3 separate regions of the Homo sapiens genome follow, and all the other regions are linked to region 1. The links are contacts of gene promoters, found by promoter capture Hi-C in blood cells and fetal thymus (Javierre and others, 2016). All regions are on one chromosome and are shown on one strand. The core of a region is centred on a gene start or on the middle of the fragment in contact, and the rest is flanking DNA. Distances in the headings are between cores, read along the strand shown.

Region 1 (4,309 bases), core at 783-3,282:
CAGAGGGAGTTAGCAGAGAAGGGGGCTGGCTGTTTCATTTTAGAATACGACTCTTGAAGAACCCGTGATGGAGGAATAAACAGAAGTCCTGGTTCCTATTTCTAGACAAGAGGCTGCCCAATGTAATATGTAATATCAGTAATAGTAAGGTTGCATTTCTGTAGGGTGGCTCGATCAAGCGCTTCTTGTATACCATATCATTAGCTGCCCGAGGGCCAGTAAGGTCGGATGGTTTGTTCAAGGACAAGAACTAACAAGTAACAGAGATAGGACTTATCTTTTTCTGACCTTCACTTTCCCTTTCTGTGACAAAACTGGTCTTAGGAACTGTGTTGAGCAGAGCCTTCTGTGGGCGTGAGAGCGGCTTGGAGGTGTCAAAGAAAAATTGCATCCGATATAGTTAAACAGACAAGGGGGAATTATTCAAGGCTATTGCAATAGGGAAGAGAGAGAGGGAGGGAGAGGGGAACTAGTAGAAGACTAGTGGAGGAGATTAGGATGGGAAGTTGGTCAGTGTAATGAGGCCATTTGTGTTTCCTAATTGGAACTTATTAAAGTTAGGCTCCTCCTCTCCACAAACACTAGGAGATAGGGACCCTTTTTTCCTTGATGATTACATTTCAAAGGGATGCCTCACAGATCCCTGAGAAAGATCCCCAGGCTGTAAAACCCAGCAAGAGGCGGAGAGATTTACATGTCAAAGGGTCAGAGGAAACATTCACCAATGGAAGTTGGCTAAAGTAAATGCTCTGAGAAAAGGAAGGTCTGGGGCCTACAGTTAGGAAGAAACCTGTCTAAAGTTTAGTTAAGCTGAGGGGAATGTTAAGGCCATTTGGTCACCGTAAGCAGTACCACATTTCCTTGCCTCTCCCGGGAGCCAGGTCTCAGTGTCCCCAATAGGGGACACGCACTGACCGGCGGGTGAAGGGACTGATTTTGATTATCATCCTACCAGATAGAGATTATTCCCTCTGCACCCGGGTTAACTGAAACCCGGTGGGGGTAGATCCTTGCCATTTTCCGGCCCTGTACCCCACTGGAAATAACATGCGGTGGTCAAGGGCATCCACCTCTTTAGGCAAAAGCATGTTTTCAGCCCAGAGACGATTCCACCCAACTTTACAAGAGGATAGCCCAAAGATAGAAGCCAGGGACTCAGACTTCCTCCTTCCAGAAATAACCATCATAAAAAAGCCGACCCAGTAAACGCCTGGCAGCCTGCGGCATAGAAGAAAATGGAAATCTCCTTGGCTGGCATTTCAGCTTGCCTGAGGGGGCTTGCTTTGCTCCGAGGGGAGGTGACTGTGCTGACCTTAAAATCCAGGTTTCAGGAAGCAGGAGATGAAGGTATTTTATTTTCGCCTAAAGGCTTTGATATTTTTCAAATAAAAATTTAAAAGATCCAGTACCTTCTCCCGAAGCTTCTTCATAGAGTAGTGGATTTTTAGAAAACACAAAGGCCTAGGGGTGGGGCGAGAGTGGGGGGTGGGGATGGGTAGCCCCATAAGAGCAGTGCCCTGACGCCTCTTTTCGCCCTTTTCAGACCATTTGGATTTTCTTAAGCTGCCCCTTTCCCCAACCCCCGTTTTTGCCATTTGCCTCTCCTCCCATTCTCCAAAGTGCAAATAACTGGTTATCCCTCAGGTCCTGCTACCCCATCTTTCCTGATCCCCGATCCCTCCAAATACGAAGCACCTCGCATTTGGGTCAGCAGCTGTTTCCCCTGCCTGGTGACAAGGCCGGTGTGCAGAGGGCAGAGGAGGGAGCTTCTTCCGCCACACGGTGGCGCGCGCGAGCCTCCCAAAGACCGGGCGGCCACAGCTCCTCACCTTCTCCCCATTCCAGCCCCACCCGCCCGGGCGCAGAAAGAGCCGCGCCCCCAGCCCTCCCGGGCAGGACAGCCGGGAGCGCACCTCGAGGGCCCGGGCAGCGGTCGAGTGGCAGCTGCGTCCAGCCCATGCGGGAGCTGCTGCGGGTTACGGGTGGCCCCAGCTCCAGGCTCCTCCTCCAGCCGGTCCCCCACCCTCCACCCCTTCTCGACTCCGCTCTGCAAATCGAAGGCTTTCCGGAGCAGCCTAGGAGCGGCCGCGGGCGCAGCGAAGGCGGCAGGAGGAGCGCAGCAGCCTTCGGGCAGCCGCGGCGGCGTCGCTAGAGCAGCCGGGGAGGCGCCGCGGTGCCCGGCGCGCCCTCCAAGCTAGGAGAGGGGAGAAGCCGGGGGCTGCAGCTGGGCAAGGGGGAGGAAAGTGCGTGTGCGTGCACGCCTGTGTGCAGGGCAGAGAGTGCGGGGGGCGACAGTCTCGGCTTAGGGCGGAGGAGAGGGCAGGGGAACGGCGGTGCAGCTCCCCCGCTGTCCCCGAGGATTTCCCGCGGCAGCCCCGGGCTCCCCAGTGCCCCTCACCATGGACTTGCGCGGAGTTGGGACGGGCCTCGGCAGCAGCAAGCGGCTGGCTGCCGGGCCCTGGGGGAGCGCGGGCGCGCGCGCGGGGATGGCGAGGTAGGATGGCCACCCAGCGCGACCCCCGCCGCCCCAACCCAGCGGCCCCTGGGCGGTGCCGCTGACTCGCCGGAGCGCACAGGGGTGTGGGCGGAGGCGGCCTCGCCGCGCCCGCGCCTTCGGGAGTCGCCTCGCCTCTTCCACCCACTTGCACCTGCCACCCCGCGGATACCATGTCGAAGGCGGCCGGAGGCGCGGCGGCGGCTGCGGCGGCGGCGGAAAGTTGTTCCCCAGCCCCGGCCGGCTCGTCCGCGGCCCCGCCCGCGCCGGTGGAGGACCTGTCCAAAGTGTCGGACGAGGAGCTGCTGCAGTGGAGCAAGGAGGAGCTGATCCGCAGCCTGCGGCGCGCCGAGGCGGAGAAGGTGAGCGCGATGCTGGACCACAGCAACCTCATCCGCGAGGTGAACCGCCGCCTGCAGCTGCACCTCGGCGAGATCCGCGGCCTCAAGGTGAGCGCGGGCCAGGTGGGGAGGCGCGGCGCGGCTGGGAGCGGGGTGCCCCGAGGAGGAGGCGGGGCCAGGCAAACTTTCCCTCCCTCCCTCAACAGGTGACCCTCCCCTTCTCCCGGTCGGCACCCCCTACCCCCAGTCCCCAGCCCCTGTGTAACTTTTCCAAACTTCGGAGGCGTCTGCTCCCCTCCTCTCCCCAACACGGGGCGCTCCACTGTCTGGCTGTTCGGGGAGGCGCTGAGGACGCTGGAAAGCAGGGAGGGAGGTGAAGGGCACGCGAACCTTTCATTTCTTAGGGAGGCTGGAAAATCTGTGCCTGGGGAGCCGGGTTTCAGTCAGTTAGGCGGAAAGGCCAGTGAGGGGGTGAATCCAGGGGATCTTCGCCTTGGAGGGTCGGGAATGCGGCTGCTCTGGGCCAGCAGCTCTTGGGCGGGCAGAGGGCGAGGAAAGGGCGCCACTGCCAGGGAGAGCGGCTGGCGGGGCGCCCGGGAGAAGCAGCGGGCGCCACCCTCAGAGCAGTCTTGTGTCACCGGGTACATAGGAGTTCAAGCTCTGCCTTCACGTCTTCTCCCAATTCCTGTGCTTTCCCTCTCCCGGAGTTTGGAAGGCATCCCCTGGAGTTGCCTTACTCCCCTTCCCACTTAACCCCAGGTTGACTGGGGGAAAGAGGAGGAGCAAAGAGACTCAGTATGGAAGGAGCAGCATTTTGACAGAGTACCCCAAGTGTTGGTCAGTGATGGTTTCTTTCTGAGCCAGCCCCCCTGCCACCCTCTTCTAGGAAAAGAAGGGAAACGTACCCCAAGCCCACTAACTTTCTTTTCTCCTTGGAGAGCGCCGGGTCTGCGAGGAGTGTGCCTGCCCAGCTGCAGTACACTAGTGGCCGGGAACCGCCCTGCTGGCGAGCACCACAAACTTCCTCTCCTTCCAGCTAGCGCTGGTGCCTCCTGGTATTCCTTCCTCTCATTGTTCTGCTTTGTTTGTAGGAAGCCAGACACAAACGAAATCACTGCAGGGACTTCAGGGAGCAAATTCCCGAAGGCACAAGCTGTTCTTTTCCCCTTTCCACTCCTATCCCCACATATCAGACAGTAGATGCTGTTCCGGAATTGCCTCAGTGCTCCAGCTCTGGGATTCTGGGGCAAGAAAGAGTGGGAAGAGTGGAATGCTCAAGGCTCACCTATGTGCTGGGCCCAGTTCAGGTGGAGATGGCCGTCTCCCGAGGCCGAAAGTCATTGTCATATAGTCCCTAGAGTGGGTGCAGGTAGGAAGATTCCTCCAGTCAGAAAAATGCCAAGGCTTACTCTCTCCTGTGGTTGAATTCATTACTAACAGAGTGTTTATTAAGTGCCAGTCTCTTTGGGGAATA
Region 2 (4,309 bases), core at 499-2,998, 1.2 Mb after region 1:
CTTCTAGGGTTTTTATGGTTTGGGGTTGTATATTTAAGTTTTTAATCCATCTTGAGTTATTTTTTGTATAATACGTAAGGTAGGAGTCCAGTTTCAGTGTTCTGCATATGGCTAGCCAGTTTTCCCAGCATCATTTATTGAATAGGGAATCCTTTCCCCATTGCTTGTTTTTTTCAGGTTTGTTGAAGATCAGATGGTTGTAGATGTGTGGTGTTATTTCTGAGGTCTCTGTTCTGTTCCATTGGTCTGTATATCTGCTTTGGTACCAGTACCATGTGGTTTGGTTTACTGTAGCCTTGTAGTGTAGTTTGAAGTCAGGTAGTGTGATGTCTCCAGGTTTGTTATTTTTGCTTAGTTTTTCAGTCAATAAATAGGCAAAAAAATTAATAAATAATTCAATCAAGAAAAAAAGTACAAGTATAGTAAATAATTATTCTTCATTTTCCAAGGTAAGGTGAAATCAAAAATACAACGTTAAGAAGTCACTTACTCAATTTGATACAGCTCCAACAATTTCAAGGGGATTCAATGTTGAAGGAAGCAATTTTCTTTATTTAATCCCATTTTCTCTTATTTTTCTTGTCATTTTTTTTTTGTTTACTCTATGATCATCTTGACAAATGCCAACTTTTACATAAATGTTTGCATTTCAAGCGATGAGAGGAAGATTAAGGCATCTATATGTTCTCTAGAAAGCCAACCTATATATACTAGTGTGGAAATAAGTAGCTAAGATTTACCAAGAAACAAATACAATAATTTCTTAAAATATAAAGCTTCCTGAGATTATATTTGGAAATAAAAAGTAAAATATGCCTTTTGTTTTTAAAAGAACTACATGTTGCTGATGGGAAATCAGTATTTCTGAAAGGTAGAGTGTTAGTTATTTTGGAATGCTTATGGCAATGATGATCACATTGACATTGGTTTGTCTACTTCCAGGTTGGGAGCACGTATAAGATGGGAAAGGTAATTATAAGGCCTTTGAGGTAATTTATTCTTACCCTTTAATGTCTGATAATACATTAATGACGCAGTTAAAATCTCTAGGCTAAAAAGCAAGTTTAGGTTATATCACAACCAAAGTTAGTAAAGAAAAGCCAAATAGAGTAATCTTAACAGAATTTACTCCTCTTACATGACTCTACACTTAGAGAAGGTAGCATTCAATATTTTTTAAAATAAATCCGCTAAGTTTTCCTACTTTATATGCCCTGTTTTGCTTCTCTGTTTTAATAACCGAATTTCTCAAATATTATCAAGGGAAATTTTAAATTTGTGTGTTTTGGAAAGAAATTTAGCTCGTATGTACTCCTGAGAATCTGATTCTCAGTGAACTTTATGTCCTTTGCCAGTTCTATCTATCTATCTATCTATCTATCTATCTACCTATCTATTGTCTATTTAATTTATTTTATTATTTTAGGTTCGGGGGTACAGATGCAGGTTTGTTACATGGGTAACTTGTGTGTCACTGAGGCTTGGTATATGAATAAACCTGTTACCCACATAGTGAGCATGGAGTTTAAATCTCTTAGAAAATACCTAGAGAACAGTACTCAAGTACATTTTGCTTCTTGTACAGCATACACTTTTGCTTTTACGAGCTATATATACAAATGAACTTTCTTTGGAAATAGTTTGACAGATACCTTAGCTTTTTCCATTTTGAGGAGGTAGTAGAAAAAGTTTTCAGAAGAAGGCAAGACAGTCAAAGGGCTTTCAGAGGAAAAAGCACATTTACATACTCTGACATATCTTGTAAGTGCAAATTACTAGCAAGCATAATTATCATCTTGGAATTCATATCTATTTGGTAGTATAGGAAAATTTTAAAAAGAGAGTGAAAAAGTAAAGTTCTACTTGTAAGGAAAAAAGAATGAGAAAAGAGTGATGTTAAGTGTGAAAGGACTTGACTACATGTCTATAATTTAACCTCAGATGTTCCAAAAATGTGAGATGTTATCTAAATAAATGCTCTTTGGTTTTATGATATTCAGTTGACTTGAGAGTACGTGGAAATGTTCTCAATTTCCTCTGCTTAAAACATTTTAACTTGTCAAATTATTATTCCTTTTTGAGACAGAATTTCACTCTATTGCCCAGGCTGGAGTGCAGTTGTGGGATCATGGCTCACTGCAGCCTTGAATTCCCAGGCTTAAGTGATCCTCTTGCTTCAGCCTTCCAAGCAGCGGGGACTACAGGCATGCACCACCATATCCATCTACTTACTTTTTTTTTTTTTTTTTTTTTTAGAGAGAGGTTCTCACTATGTTGCCCAAGCTGGTCTTGAACTCCTGGCTCAAGCAATCTTCTTGCCTCTGCCTCCCAAACTGTTAGGATTGCAGACATGAGCCACTGCACCAAACCATAATTATTATAACTAAACAGCAAAAACTACTTGCATATCATTTTTGTAAAAAATGTAAATTTTCTACAGTAAAAATACAGATAAAACATCAAAATTTAATTTTAAATACTGAATTTTTCAACACTGGAAAACTCAAGCTATTAAGGGAATATCTGTATTTAACTTTCAAAAAAACCCTTATTTTTCAGACTTGGAAAATAATATCTGCATTTCTTTCAATGTGCAGGCTATCCTGTATTTATAATTTTATTATCTCCTGAAAACTGAAAGTAAATCTACTGAATGCAGTGCTTCTGCAATGACTAGTGTCAGTGGATTCAGGTGGGTATGATTATTCTAAGGGTTACCCTAAGCTTAACGTTATAATAATGGAGAGTTTTTCAGTTGTACTTGGTTTCTTAACATTCTCTGATATCTAACCTATGATAAGGAGTCAAATTTAACTTAATGGTTTAGTTAAGAAAAGAAACAAGGATACCCTAGAGGAAAAATAAATAAATAAACACTTCAATAAGCTCTTGTTCCAGTTGCATCCCTGGTTCCCCACAGCACTGAGCATGACGAGGTATTGTCCACTTTCTAAGCTCCCAGTTTCATTTGTTATAAATATGGAGTGAAAAGAGAGCTACCCTGAGAGTTAGAAATTATTTTTTGTTCTCACCATAAACTAGGACTTTCTAACTTTGCTTGGGCCTATGTTATTTCTGCAGAATGTACTTAATAGCTTCAGACAACACAATTTCAGTTGCTCTGTATAGTAATAACTAGTTTCATATTGAGCATTGTAAATTACAAATCAATACAGACTTAGAGCTAGGTAAATATATCTCTTGGTTTTCTGACTTTCACTGAAGGAAAGGTGAAGATGGAAGGAATCTAAATAATGTTGATGCCACTTACTTGGCATTCTCAAAATAATACCTAGCCACAAGTATTATTTTAAAACTTTATTATCTGTCTAAATCCTAAGTCTTATTTCTGATGAATTCTAAAAGCAGCTCTCAGTATTATGCTTTTACGATGCTAAATTGTTGTTATAACCAAAATTTCATTAAACCTGAAAATGTTTTAGAGGAATAGGCACTTTCTAGAAATTCTGTACATGGAAAAAAAATAAGATCCTCCCCTGATGACTTACTGAATGCAATGTAAGTAAATTAATCGTTTTTGCTGTCTCTGACATGATAAAGTTGTTTGGCACAAATGAAGGCATATACAAAATTGATGGGCAATTTCTTTTAAATTACAATTGAGATGGGATGAGCTGCCAAGATTTCTTTTATGAAGCAATCTCACAAGTGTCTCTTGGGCTGAAATTCTTGTAAGAGAATGTTTAACTCAGGCTGTGCCACTTATTTAAAACATGCATATCTAGTGTACACACCCAGCTGAAATCAGCCAAGAAATGTCAGATTTCTATTCTTAATTATCCAAAATAGAATCAATTCTAATAACATGGAATAAGCCCTTGTGTGTGTTGGGTGTCTTTAGTTGTTATCTCAGCTAGACCTCTATCATTCACTGTGTAATCTTTGCCATGACTCCAAACCTGTTTGGTTTTCACTCTCTCATCTGTAAAAGACAAGAGATGGTTTGAATCACTGGTTTTCCATTTCATAGTCTTATGGGTTGAATTGTGGTTCTCCCAACATTTATATGTGGAACTCCTAACCCCCAGTACTTTATGATGTGACGTTACTGGGGAATAGGGTTGTTGCAGATGTAATTTAGTTAGGTTAGGTTGAGGTAACACTAAAGTAGGTTGAGTCCCTTAATCCAATAACATTAGTTTCAATTTGGAATAGTACAGTAGAATGGGACAACCAGTTTAACAAAGAGTAAGAAAAGACATTCCAGTCAATTACTGTTTGACAAATCAAGATCATGTTTTATAATAAAGTATGATGTAAATATTATTCAATTGCAGACAGCACAAGT
Region 3 (4,309 bases), core at 771-3,270, 1.1 Mb after region 1:
CAATAAAATTGAATTGAGGAAAGCTTGATGTCAACAGCTCTCTACCATTACAAGAGCCGCTGATAAAACAAAGATATCTGGGTATAGAATTGCATAAAAATAAAACGTAACGAGTGAATCATGCTGCTTGGTTCTTGCTCTAAACGCAAAATTTAGCAGTGTCTAACCCAACTAGGGTCTGGATTATTCAAACCCTCTCCATAGTTAAATGAAATAGGAACTGATGGAGCATAATAATAGTAATTGATTTTTTAATAAAATTATCTTGTAGAAATGGAAAAATGAACAGAATTTACATTATATTACACAGCTCTTGGATAATATATTTACTATAGGTTCATCCAAGTGTTATTAATTGGCCATTAAGTGTTCAAGTATTATTAATTGAGCTTCTATTTTGTCTCAGGCATTTTGTAAATTTTTGAGGATATAACAGTAAACAAAACATATTTCCTTACCTTTGCAAGCTTCCCATCTAATTAGAGAGACATAACAGTTTTTCTCTGTCAACCTCACCCCCTTCTTTCTCCCTCACACACACATACACAAACAAAAAGATACAATTTTTAACAAACAACCTCCAATGAATTTGAGGAACTCCAAACTCTAATCAAAGTCTCAGCATCTTCTTGTCTTCTGAAACAACTTTGATCCTATACATCTTGAATTTTCTAAGGTTCCTACATGTCCTGTAATGATGCATGAATAAAAATAAAAGTACCCATCCCCCCTTTCATTGCCTAATGAATTCAACACATTCAACAACCAGATTTTTGAGGAAGATAAATTAGGTGCAGCTATAAGTTCATTTCAGGGCTGACTGTTGATTGAAACATGAAGGATACATTTTCAAAGTCAGTACTGAGAGAGAACTGATTTATGTTACTTCATCAAAAGATAAACAAGGTGAGATTTTACTCATTAATACGACATAGGTTTAATCTCTTTTCTACTTGAGCTGCAAACTATTTCTAAGTCCTAATGAAACTAGTTTAATGGTATTTTTAGGATTGCAAATGTATTTTCACTACCAGGATCTAAGTTAAAGAAAACCTATCTTGAAAATATGATTTTCTAAAATCTTGCAATTTCTGGAATTTAGATCTAGTTTATATATATATATGTGTGTGTGTGTGTGTATCTATATCTGTATATGTGTGTGTATATATATATCTGTATATGTGTGTATACACACAGATACACACACAAGTATAATGTATATGCATGTATAAACAATAAAGAATATATTGACCTTCCAACTTCTTTAAGTTTTTCTTCCTCCAGCAAAGAGAAAGCTGACACATATTAGTCGCTATGACTACTCATTAATTATAGTATATAACTGGAACTCATCAATTGTTTTGCCCCATTTGCTTACCCAAATGGCTAAAATACTGGACTCTCTGATTCCTTGCAAGATCAAATCTATATTCGATCTTGGATTATTTTTACAAAGTAGTCACAGAGCTCAATAGGATAGCAAAAACTAGCTGAATTTTATATGGACTCTGGTTTATAGGATATCCTGGCCCAGCATTAAAATATCTTGTGGATAGTAATTAAAACTACACAACTTTCTTAGTTTGGAGTTCTAAAATATGCTTGATTGATAGTATCTTAGCAGAATATGTGCCTTTTAACTTAATATCTGATTTAACCTGATAATCAAAATTGTCCCAATTTTTCAAAATATTACTGAGATAAATATCTTGACAGTCCAGTAGGAACCCATGGACTTAATTTCAAGTATTAAAAATGTAATATATAACTGAGAATCTTATAGAAGTTAATCTCATTTATCATTCAGTATAATATTTCCTTCTACACAATTCTTCGAGATGGTTTTGCATTCGTATAAGCTCCTTACCTACCCTGACTGCAGGGTAGCTTTTAAGTTGAGTATCTGTCCCAGATAGTCTAGGATTATCTATCTCCTACTACCCTGAAACACAGTAACTTGCTTTGATCTGGTCTTCCTCGTTTTCGTCTTGTGCCATGCATCTGAATTCTACATCTTTACCCGTCCTTTTCAGGATCATATCTTATTTGGACTCTTCACATGGCCTTTATTCATTTTTATTAATATATACCTGTAATAAATAAGTTTAGAATATCAACTTGACTAGATTAAGGGATGCCTAGGTATCTGGTAAAGCAGTATTAGCAGGTGTGTCTTGTGAGAGTGTTTCCACAGGAGATGGCACGTGAGCTGGTGGACCAAGTGGGGAATATCCCACCTCACTATGGGCCAGGAACCATCCAATAGGCTGGGAGCCCTGATAGAACAAAAACACAGTGGAGAGGAGAATTCACTCTTTGTTTTCTGAAGTTGGGACAGCCTTCTTCTCTGGCCTTTGGATATGGGCATCAGAATGCCAGGTTTTTGTTCTTTGGACTCCTGGACTTGTACGAGCATGCCCTCACCTCCTGCTCCTACCACATTCACAGGCTTTTGGCCTTGGGCTCAGAGTTACACAATTATTTCTCTGATTCTAAGGGTTTTGGTCTTGAACAGCCATGCTACCAGCTTCCCTGGCTTCCCAGTTTTCAGACAACATGCTATGAGACTTCTTAGCCTACATAGTCATGTGAACGAATCCCCTTAATCAATCTCCTCTCTATGATCTATGTATCTATCTATTTACCTATCTATCTAACTACCTATCTATCTATGTATCTATCTGTTTACATATCTATATACTATTCATTGGGTCTTTCTGGAAAATCCTGAATAATAAATTGATTACAAATTTTACCAATATAAACAATATGTAGTATACAATTTACAGATGATAAAATATTTAATACTGCTTCTTGCAAATTTTACATAGCCAGTTGATTCTAACAGAATTATTTTATTACTTTTCCAGCTCGAATGAGGTATAATTGACAAATAAAAGTTGTATTCATTTAAGATATACAAGTTTATGATCTGATATACATGTACATTGTGAAATAATCACCACAATCAAGCTAATTCAAGCTAATTAACATATACATTACTTCACATCATTGCAATTCTCTTCTTGTTCTTGTTGTTCTTCTCTGTGTGTGTGTCTGTGGGTGGAAAGAATATTTAATAGCTACATGATTTTTAAATCAACTCAGTACCTGCATCTTATATTACATCCAGATTCATGCTCTGCAGCTTGACATAAACTCTACCTCACAACTGCATGCCCTCAAAATCTGTCCCCCAAGTAATCATCCTCTCCTTGGCTTTTAAAAACTTATTTAAGCAGCTATTGCATCTTCATTTAACTCTGTCTTCTACAGATAAAATATCCACAGTAGCTTCAATGATTCCTCATAAGCCACATAATATAGTGCAATGGTTTCAAACTGTATTGAAAAGATGACTAGGAGTCATGCAGAGCTAATTTTCCATCACCCAGGAGTAGAATGGTGAGGGTTTGGCAGAGTCAGCATATATGTGGCTCTGTGCTCTGCATTTTTACTTCAAGCACAGGTTGCACAGCTCTGATAGTATTTGTTTTAAATACAACATACCTATTAGGCATGTTTGAAGATTTCATTAAACAAACAGGTAGGCTATAAACTATTCCCAAACAATAAGCTTAAATTTTAAAAGAATAGATTTTGGTGTCTGACAGACCTGAATTTAAAACACAGCTCAACACTTAGTAACCACTTACCTTGTATTACCTTAGATAGTTTAAGCCCATAGACACTCAAGTTTTTTAACTGTACCATTGGGAAAACAATCCATAATTTATATGTTGTAGGGACTAGGAAATTTATTTGTGTTTTTAACACACTGATAAAAAACATTTTCATATAATAAATGCTTGAAAAATTATTACTTGAAATTAAGGTTTCGGCCATACTGAATCAATGAGTGTCTCACTTATGCTATAAAAATTTATAAAACTGAACAAAATCTATGAAGAAACACTTTTCAAGTATTGAACAACATATCATGCAGTGGTTTGATCATTCAAAAAACTAAAACACATTAGAAGAGCTATACACTACTTACCTTACTATTGGACAGGGGAAAAATTCAAAACTAAGTGCAGGGAAGTCGAGCTCAAATGAAGGGATCAGTGGTTTTACTAGTTGGAGAAAAAGAAATCAATGTTCATGACTGCTGAGGTGATTGGAATTTGCAGTTGCAGGCATTGGAATGGAGGAATATTCACAGGGAAGGAGTTTCAGATGTGTGCCTTTAGTTGTTTTTCACTCAGCCAAATACTAATCTAACAGAGCAAAAGACCATGTTAGAGAACCATAGTGGAAAAGCTGAAGTGAGACACCAGAGATTGCAAAATGCTAGTAGTCTTTGAAG

What was found. The method cuts DNA at HindIII sites, captures the fragments that hold promoters and counts their contacts. A CHiCAGO score of 5 or more calls a contact.
Region 2: a fragment that was not itself captured here is called in contact with the fragment with the promoter of CCDC85A in region 1 in 2 of 17 cell types (M0 macrophages and M2 macrophages); the score reaches 10.9 in M0 macrophages.
Region 3: a fragment that was not itself captured here is called in contact with the fragment with the promoter of CCDC85A in region 1 in 1 of 17 cell types (M0 macrophages); the score reaches 5.4 in M0 macrophages.

What each region holds. Positions count from the first base shown.
Region 1 is chr2:56,181,958-56,186,266 of GRCh38, forward strand. CCDC85A (coiled-coil domain containing 85A) reads left to right here and starts at 2,033. Exons shown (of 6, transcript NM_001080433.2): 1 at 2,033-2,943. The coding sequence starts at 2,668. LOC100129434 (a long non-coding RNA gene) reads right to left here and starts at 3,813. Exons shown (of 3, transcript NR_125368.1): 1 at 3,741-3,813. RefSeq lists a silencer at 1,703-2,032. The HindIII fragment of the contact is 6,654 bases long and covers 1,420-4,309 here.
Region 2 is chr2:57,353,847-57,358,155 of GRCh38, forward strand. No RefSeq gene overlaps it. Among named protein-coding and RNA genes, the nearest start is that of VRK2, 690 kb to the right of the region's middle. The HindIII fragment of the contact is 1,948 bases long and covers 775-2,722 here.
Region 3 is chr2:57,311,464-57,315,772 of GRCh38, forward strand. No RefSeq gene overlaps it. Among named protein-coding and RNA genes, the nearest start is that of VRK2, 730 kb to the right of the region's middle. The HindIII fragment of the contact is 3,110 bases long and covers 466-3,575 here.